3 separate regions of the Homo sapiens genome follow, and all the other regions are linked to region 2. The links are contacts of gene promoters, found by promoter capture Hi-C in blood cells and fetal thymus (Javierre and others, 2016). All regions are on one chromosome and are shown on one strand. The core of a region is centred on a gene start or on the middle of the fragment in contact, and the rest is flanking DNA. Distances in the headings are between cores, read along the strand shown.

The links. The method cuts DNA at HindIII sites, captures the fragments that hold promoters and counts their contacts. A CHiCAGO score of 5 or more calls a contact.
Region 1: the fragment with the promoter of SEC23B here is called in contact with the fragment with the promoter of NXT1 in region 2 in 1 of 17 cell types (total CD4 T cells); the score reaches 5.8 in total CD4 T cells.
Region 3: a fragment that was not itself captured here is called in contact with the fragment with the promoter of NXT1 in region 2 in 1 of 17 cell types (total CD4 T cells); the score reaches 6.1 in total CD4 T cells.

What each region holds. Positions count from the first base shown.
Region 1 is chr20:18,506,614-18,509,313 of GRCh38, forward strand. It overlaps SEC23B (SEC23 homolog B, COPII component), which reads left to right and starts at 1,327. Exons shown (of 20, transcript NM_006363.6): 1 at 1,327-1,359. RefSeq lists enhancers at 868-1,197, 1,548-1,597. The HindIII fragment of the contact is 4,172 bases long and covers 617-2,700 here.
Region 2 is chr20:23,349,265-23,352,112 of GRCh38, forward strand. NXT1 (nuclear transport factor 2 like export factor 1) reads left to right here and starts at 1,527. Exons shown (of 2, transcript NM_013248.3): 1 at 1,527-1,797. It overlaps NXT1-AS1 (NXT1 antisense RNA 1), which reads right to left and starts at 2,203. Exons shown (of 3, transcript XR_937384.2): 1 at 2,066-2,203. RefSeq lists enhancers at 528-1,400, 1,109-1,248, 1,168-1,462, 1,401-2,272, 2,329-2,378 and silencers at 819-948, 1,569-1,838. The HindIII fragment of the contact is 12,471 bases long and covers 1-2,848 here.
Region 3 is chr20:18,569,776-18,572,475 of GRCh38, forward strand. No RefSeq gene overlaps it. Among named protein-coding and RNA genes, the nearest start is that of SMIM26, 3.7 kb to the left of the region's middle. The HindIII fragment of the contact is 2,280 bases long and covers 181-2,460 here.

The sequences.
Region 1 (2,700 bases), core at 77-2,576, 4.8 Mb before region 2:
TCATTCTCACATTTAACAGTAATTGTTTCTTTGTGCCTTAAACTATTAATAATTTCTATGATCTGTAGATAACTTAAAACTTAGTATTAAATTGAGCTAATTAATGGATACTTCTTGGATGCCTAGATATGTTCTTGCATAATTTTATGTTTACATCGTTTTGCTTATTTTTATATGCTACAGAGACTACAACTCTGAGTCACAGTAATGATGTGTTCATGTTTGCCACTTGTCAGCGTGTGTAAAAATGGTTGTGGTGGCTTTATACAGTTGTGTTCTATCGCGCCTTTTGCAGCAACATGGATGCATCTGGAGGCCATGATCCTAAAAGAATTAACGCAGAAGCAGAAAACCAAATACATGTTCTCACTTGAAAGTGGGAGCTAAGCATTGGGCACACATGGACACAAAGGTGACATTAATAGACGCTGGGGACTACTAGAGTGGGGAGGGAGGCAGGGAGGGGCTGAAAAACTTGGGTACTATGCTCAGTATCTGGGTGACCAGCTCATTCGAATTCGAAACCTCATAGCCAGGTAACAAATACGCAGTGTACCCCCTAAATCTAAACGTTGGAATTATTTTTTAAAAGAAAGTTATGTTCCATGTATTTCTAAGCTTACTCTCCTAAAATGGTTGAATATTACAGTTCTCAATTATTTATCTCCATGTAGAAGGATGACAGGGACTGTGCGCTAGTGCCAGCCTCCGCTGAGAGCGCCAAGACATTACAGCAAGCGACGGTAGGAGAGCTTGTAACGTGAAGCACCACCACACCTCTGTACTTCAAACTTAACCACAGAGACCGACTCCCAAACCAGCAAGTGCGTAAGCGCCGCCGCGCTCACCACCCGCCCCGCCCCTTCCGCATGCTAATGCCTTCTTCCGGCAGCCTTAGTTTCTTCCAACCAGTGCAGCTCCCTGTTCCGCGAGCATACGTCATCGTTCTCGCTTTCCGGTAGCTAAGGCGATCAGCGGGACTTCCCACTGAGACGAGCGGATGTCATATTGTATCAGGGCGAACCTCTGAGGAGCGCTGGCTGCGCTTAGGCAACGGTGCGGCAGGCGCCGGGGTTTTCTGAAACAGAAACGTTTAGGGGTGGGGAAACGTGTTCCGAGGAACTCTCGTTTTGAAGTGCGACATACACCTGTCTTGCCCTGTTCCAAGATGGTGGCAGAGCTTCTCTGAGTCTCTCGCTTCCTCCAGTCCGTCGGAGAAGCGCTCTTTGATTGGCCAGTGGACAGCGCCGTGGCATGACGCGCTGGGGCGCTGGCCAATCGGTTGAGAGCTGAGCTGGACTTGGCGGTGGGAGCCGGAGCCTGCTTGTTGCAGCTGTGGGTGAGGACGGCTCTAGCTAGGTGAGCGGCTCCGGCCAGGTGAGCGGGGCGCATAGGTGACGGAGGGCCGAGGGCACGGGTATGAGTTTCTGCCGGGGGCGAGGTGAGCGGCTTCTGGGAGGAGGCCTTTTCTTGACAGTTTAGGGTAGCGGGGGAATGGATGATCCGGGAGTCCCCTGCGGATGTCGTCCCGCACCAGGCCGGGACCGATTTCTGGCTCCAGTTTCCCCAGAATTGCGGAGTGCGCACACCTGGAAGGACCCAAGTCCCGTTTTATAGTTGAGAAACTCAAGACTCAGACAAGTGAAACGACTTTTGCTTCATGACAGCTGGAACTGGAACCCAGGTCCTTGGACTCCCTTCAAGGATTAAACCTCACTTATTCTTACATACACATGGTCACTGTGTCCTGAGAAGTTACGAGTTGGCGCGATAAGGGTGGTTCAGATTTTTTGGCATATTCTCCTGTTATCTTTCCAGGCCTTTCATTCATTCACTAATTCATACTTTCAGTTATTTACCTCTTCAGATACCTTCCCCGATACTTTGGTAAAAGCTATGGACCCATCTCCCTAGAAAAACGGCATATTCCCTCATGCGCATAACTTCAGATGATTAGTGGACCTTCTATAGTCCCCTTGGATTATGTGTCCACTGCTAAGAATCCAGACCCTAGAAGGGTGAGGGAAACAGGCAGTAGGAAAAGGAGGGAGCAGGTCTTAGGCTGTACATGCTTGGAAACCATTAGATGGAGGCAGTAGCTTCTTTTTTTTTTTTTTTTTTTTTGAGATGGAGTCTCGCTCTGTCGCCCAGGCTGGAGTGCAGTGGCGTGATCTCGGCTCACTGCAACCAATGCCTCCCAAGGTCAAGCAGTCCTCCCTGCCGCAGCCTCCCGAGTAGCTGGGATTACAGGCACCTGCCACCACGCCCAGCTAATTTTTGTATTTTTAGTAGAGACGGGGTTTTGCCATGTTGGCCAGGCTGGTCTTGAATTCCTGACCTCAGGTCATCCACCGGCCTCGGTCGCCCAAAGTGCTGGGATTACAGGCGTGAGCCACCGCGCCCGGCCGCCAGTGCCTTTTAATAAAGAACGTTTTGAGAGAGAGACGGTTATTTAATGAAATCTGCTGACATACTTGCTGAGAGTTGTGATAGAACTTGCTTTCATTCCGACTTTAGTTATCCCTTTGCTTCCCATGAAGCTCCAGAGTGCTTCCTGTGCACACAGTGCTTCAGGTTCTTGCCGTTGCCAGAAATAAACAGATTTCTTAGAGTTTCAGTTGGAGCAAACATTGGAATTCTTGTGTTCTGGGCTTTATGTAGTAGAGTAATTCATTTGCTTTTCTAGCCATGCAATATTAT
Region 2 (2,848 bases), core at 277-2,776:
ATGAATCTTCATACTTTTCTAGGTATGAATCGACCCTGTGACACCAGGATGGTTCTTTGTCAGCCTCCTTGTCTATAAAATCAGAAATAATGGTACCTCCCCCAATAAGTTATGTGAAACAAATTAAAGGGGCTTATTATACAGGAAACAAAAGCAGCACAGCATCCAAACTACTGAGCGTGCAGTAAATCAACGCATTCCCACTTCCATTCCATCCACGCTGATTTAGATCAATCCAAGTATCACTGCCTTGGGGTTCAAAAGGCCATGTTAGTTCACAAAGCCCCGAAAATGCTCTTTCACACTCTCTGCTCAGCCTCCAACGTGTCTTTTTAATAATCCAAACTTTCCACCTACTTAACTGAAGTGTGTGGGGGGAGAGGGTGCGGGGGGGAAGGGGTGGCCTATACTAAATAGCCCAACTGTTTTCCACTTGTCCTGAAATCTGAGACCAAGATTCTCTTAGGAATGCAAGCAAAGGGAGCCGACGGGACGCCAAGAAAGCACAGGTTAAACTACCTCACTTCATCTAGCCCCATTTCTCTCCTGGCTTTTCAATTAATTATTCAGCCTCAGACCAGCAGATGGAGCTGAAAATGTTGTCTAAAGAAATGAGGTTTTTCTTTTAATTTACAAGCTATAGTTTCTCATGCCTCCACACTGAATGGTTACATCCTGTTGAGCCTGTTCGTAAAGTTCAGTAAAAATCCAGTTCTCATTCCAGAACAGCTGAATCGTAGCTATGAACGCGGAAGAACAGAGTCCCAACCCCAGCCGGGCCCGGGTTTCCCGGGGCCCCTCAAGCCTCAGGGCAGTGGAGAGCCGCCGTCACGCCCCCGCCTCCCCCACGTCCCACCCTCGCCCCAGTCTCCTCCCACTTTTAGCTACTTTTCCCATCTGACTAAAACTGGCTTCCTCCGTGTCCACCAAGATGTCGCCTCTAAGTGGCCTAACTCCTAAAGAGCGCGATCGGCTCAAGCACTCCGCCACGCGGTTTCCACGGGGCGCGGCCGGCGTTGCCCTCGCCGTGGCCTCAAGCATTGCGGCGCCCCACATGTTGCCAGACGGAAGGCCTCGGCGGGGTCAGGCAGCTGCTGCTGGCCGTGACTACATCACTGGTGACGTTTCACGAGACTTTTAACTGAAATCACTCCAATACAGGCGCATGCGGGACGAGGGGAAAGCATCTCACCCGACCCCACACACCTTCCCCTCCCTCTCCAGCCTAGCGGCCTCCGCTCAGCGGAAAAAAAAGCAGACGCTACTCCCCGCTCTAGGTGCGGGACCTAAGAGGTTTGGCCCAATCAGGCATCCCACCTAACCAGACGGGCCGGAGTCTGTGGCCCGGTTGGACCAACGAAAACTCTAGGGCGGATTTGCCGGGATTTCTGGGAAAGTGACACTCCCGGAAGCTACCGCCTCTTATAAGCCACACATGGGCGGAGTTAGCCTTCCGGCCCGCAGTCCCACTGGCTGACTTCGCTGCCCGTCACGGGAATGCGGGAGAGGGCGGCGCCGGGGCGCTCGCGTCTGCGTGGAGACCGGCTGGCCGCGCGCGGGAAGCCGCGGAACTGCGCCGGAAAGTCCCCCGGCTCTGGGGCCCCGGTGACCCAGAGTAAGCCTCCAAGAAGGAGGAGGAGGAGAGAAAGGCGGCTCTTCCCGTGCCCCTACCAGAGGCTTCGGTGGGCCCACCTTGTGACCTCCGCGGCCGGCCCCTCAGTGGAACTGCGTCCCACGCGGGGGGCGTCCCGACCGTGGGGGCCGCGGCCCGCGCTGACCCTGGACGTCGCCGCGCAGGTACGTTGCCGTCCCCCGGCGGTCTGACCCCCGAGACAGCCCCTAGTGCATACCCCACGCCCTCCTCCATTGTCGAGAATGAGACACGGCTGTGCCTTTGTCCACGTGGTAGAGTTGCCGCCGCGGTGAGGCTCTCGCCTGTGCAAAAAGCGTGGCAGCGAATTCTCATCAACGAGGGGAGGCGCGTCCCCTCACAGCGCAGCTCTCGGGTCTGAGGAGGGCCGGGCAGGGCGTGCGTCTGTCTAGGTTTGAATTAAAGGCGACTCACAGGAAATAAGGCCATGCCACTGTGGTAGCTTTTCCCGTCCATCTCCGGACACTCGACGGTGTGGGTCGTGCGAGGAGGCGGCAGTCTTCACAGCCTCTTACTCTAGTCCTCACGGTCAGGTTCTTTTTCTGATTTGACACAGACAGCGGGACTGACGACCTCATAGGTAGCTGAAAACCGTAAGTGGAGATGGTCCTTCTATGGTGTGTGGGGGCGTGGCCAGTTGTTAGATTGTGTTTGGAAAGACAGCCAGGGGCGGAGAAGAGGGGCATTTCTGAGATGATGGGGGGACTGGTGCCATGGAGGGAGGAGGAGTGAGGTGGAGATCGGGAATTCCAGCCAAAGAGAAATGGGGTCCCTGGGAGAAAATTCCCACTCTAGCAGTCCTGGAGTTGTGCTCATGGAGACTTGCTTACGCGAGTACAAGGACAGCGTTGTATTGACAAAATTTCAGCCCTCAGTCTAGTCTTGTAAACGATAGATCAGGAGTGTACTTAACCGTCGTTACTTTGATCCAGCCCTAGGTTTCCCTTTTCTCATTTGTAAAATTGTTATAGTAATACCTTTTTCATCCATTTGTGGTAACATTTAAATGAGGTAATTTGTGTGAAGCCCTTAGCAAACACAGCGCTTCTTAGTCGTGGGTTCCGCGTGGGGTGGATTCAACCAACCTCAAATCAAAAATATTCTTCAGAAAAAGAAAAATGCGTTTGTACTGAACATGTAGAGGCTTTTTTTTTCTTGTCATTATTTCCTAAACTATACAGTATAACAACTATTTAC
Region 3 (2,700 bases), core at 71-2,570, 4.8 Mb before region 2:
GTGTTAGCCAGGATGGTCTCCATCTCCTGACCTTGTGATCCGCCTGCCTCAGCCTCCCAAAGTGCTGGGATTACAGGTGTGAGCCACGGTCCCCGGCCTACTATCTGCATTTTCAAGAGGTGTTCCTCTGTATTTGCATGAGTGAAAGATTGCTGTGAAATTTCACATAGAGCTTCCATAAGCTTGATTTCCTGAAACTAGTTAATGTAGATTTATATTTCTTTCATGTTGCTATTAGGCACAGCTTTAGTGGTCGCTTTAAGGTTAGTTTCAGCAAATCTCCATATTCACTTTGGGATTCACAGTAGCCCTTTGGGTACTACTGCGTACTGGGTAAGTATGATATAAATTTGATTGTAACTTCTGAATTAAACAGACTGGACCTATTCTTTAGGACCAGTGCACATACCCCTCATTCCTTCAGCAAGTGTGGATTACCCACCAACTGTGGCCAGTGCTATTCTAATGCTGGGAATGCAGTCAGGACGACATGATTGATGCTGAACCAGTTTCCTCAGTGGTCTCTTGGTTGCAGGCAACAAACACAAGTGAGCTTAAATCAAAAGTGGGTGTTTATAAAAAACGTGTATTGGTAGCTCAGAATTAAAGCAGAGAGTATGGGCCAGGAGCGGTGGCTCACGCCTGTACTCCCTGCACTTTGGGAGGCCGAGGGGCGGATCACAAGGTCAAGAGATCGAGACCGTCTTGGCCAGCATGGTGAAACCCTGTCTCTATTAAAAATACAAAAATTAGCTGGGCATGGCACCGCGCACCTGTAGTCCCAGCTACTTGGGAGGCTGAGGCAGGAGAATCGCTTGAATCTGGGAGGCGGAGGTTGCAGTGAGCTGAGATCGCACCACTGCACTCCAGCCTGTTGACAGCGAGATTCCATCTCAAAAAAAAAAAAAAAAAGCAGTATGTTGTCTTCAGAAGGCCTGACACTGGGACCAGAATGCAGGCAGCCACTTGTTGAGCCTGCCTGGGCTCTTGGCCTTGCTTTTCTTATTGCACACCAGCTGCTTTTCTCACCTTTCTGGAGTAATACAAATATCCCAAGAAGATACTACCTCCCATGTGCAGTGCCAAAGTCTGACCAGCCTCTCCTCAACCTGGTCTTTGGCTTCCACCCTTGCGAGAGACTCAGTTCAGTTTTTATCAGATCCCTGCCTATGGATTATAGAGTACTGCCTCAGTTATGAATAAAGTGGCATTTGTTTCTCATTTAGGTAGTGTTTTCCTGTTCATAGCTGTTGGGACCCTGTGAGTAGAGATGTGATGTGTGGTAGGACAGGAATTGGGCATTTCAGGGTTCCTCTACAGTACTATGACCTTCAGACCCTCATCTTGATTTCTCATTGGTGTCAGTTCCACCATTATGGGTGGCCTGAGCAGTGCTGTGGTGCAGTCAGCCTTAGTGACAAGGATTCCAAAATCACAAGTAACAGCTCCAGATGCTGGTAGCAGAGACTCAGCTTCCCAAGGGATATCAGGTCAAGCATGGATTCGTGCCAATTGGCTGTGTATTCCAGTGGACCATCTTGGTTGGCATCAAACTGATGAATGAGAAGCAGTGTACGACAGTAGATGGGGAAGGTGAGAAGCAAGTGAATCAGAAGTATGGGAGAAATGGGAACAGTAGCATGAACGTTTTGGAAGACATTTCCTAACATGAGGGCTTCCAGAGAAACAAAGGGCAAGGGCTGAGGGGCTGTGGCACTTGGCAGGTGAGAGTTGTTAATAGAGCACACCGAGGATAAACAGCTGAACTTCTACTCTCACCTGGCAGTCTACCCAGGATTCATACACTTGTGGGGCTTAAGGGGACATTTGGGTTAGCTTTCCTTGGGACTTGGCTGGGTTTCTTTGCTAGATCTAATTTATTCTCTTATTTCAGCCCAGCGTTCTCCTGAACTCAAGATCCATGTCCATCTAGCATTGCCACTTGGATATCTAGCCACCTCAGCTTTGTCCATAACTTAAATTGCTGTCATCACCCACAAGGCTGCTCTTCCTTCCGTTCTCTTTCTCAGAGAGTACTCAGTTCCTCAAATTAGGAACCTATCATTCTAGACTTCTCCCTCTTCTTGTTCCTTCTCCTTCCTCCAGCCACCAGGTCCCATCATTTCTACTGCAAATATTCCACTCCATTCCCACCTTCCCATTCCCTTTACCACTACCTTACTTAAATCCTCCATCCTCTTTGCTTATGTAGCCTCAACTTCCTACTCTCTTTGTCTCTACTTGGAGTCCCCTCCAATTGGTTTCTACAGTATTAGCCAGCATGACTTTTTTGAAATTAATTTTTATATTTTTAACAAAGCAACAAATGCATTAAAAAATTAAATAATGATCAAAAGTTTGTAACCAAAAAAACAGTTCCTGCTTTATCCCTCCTTGCTTTCAACTATTAGGTTTTTTTTTTTTTTTTTTTGGTATTTACGTCCACATTTCTAAATAATAAGCTTTTACTAATATCTTTAATTTATCAATCATGTATGGGATTTATTAATGAGGATTTGATCCTCCTTTCCAACTGACTAACCAATAAAACTATTGCATATTTTTGATGAATCAATAATTAATATTTACCCTGTTTTAACTATGCAAACATAGTTTGTTGATAAGCCAAGTAAGTGAGCTATAATTGTTTCTCATATAACTTTTCTTTCTGGAGTTAACTGCACTCTTTTTTTCATTTGC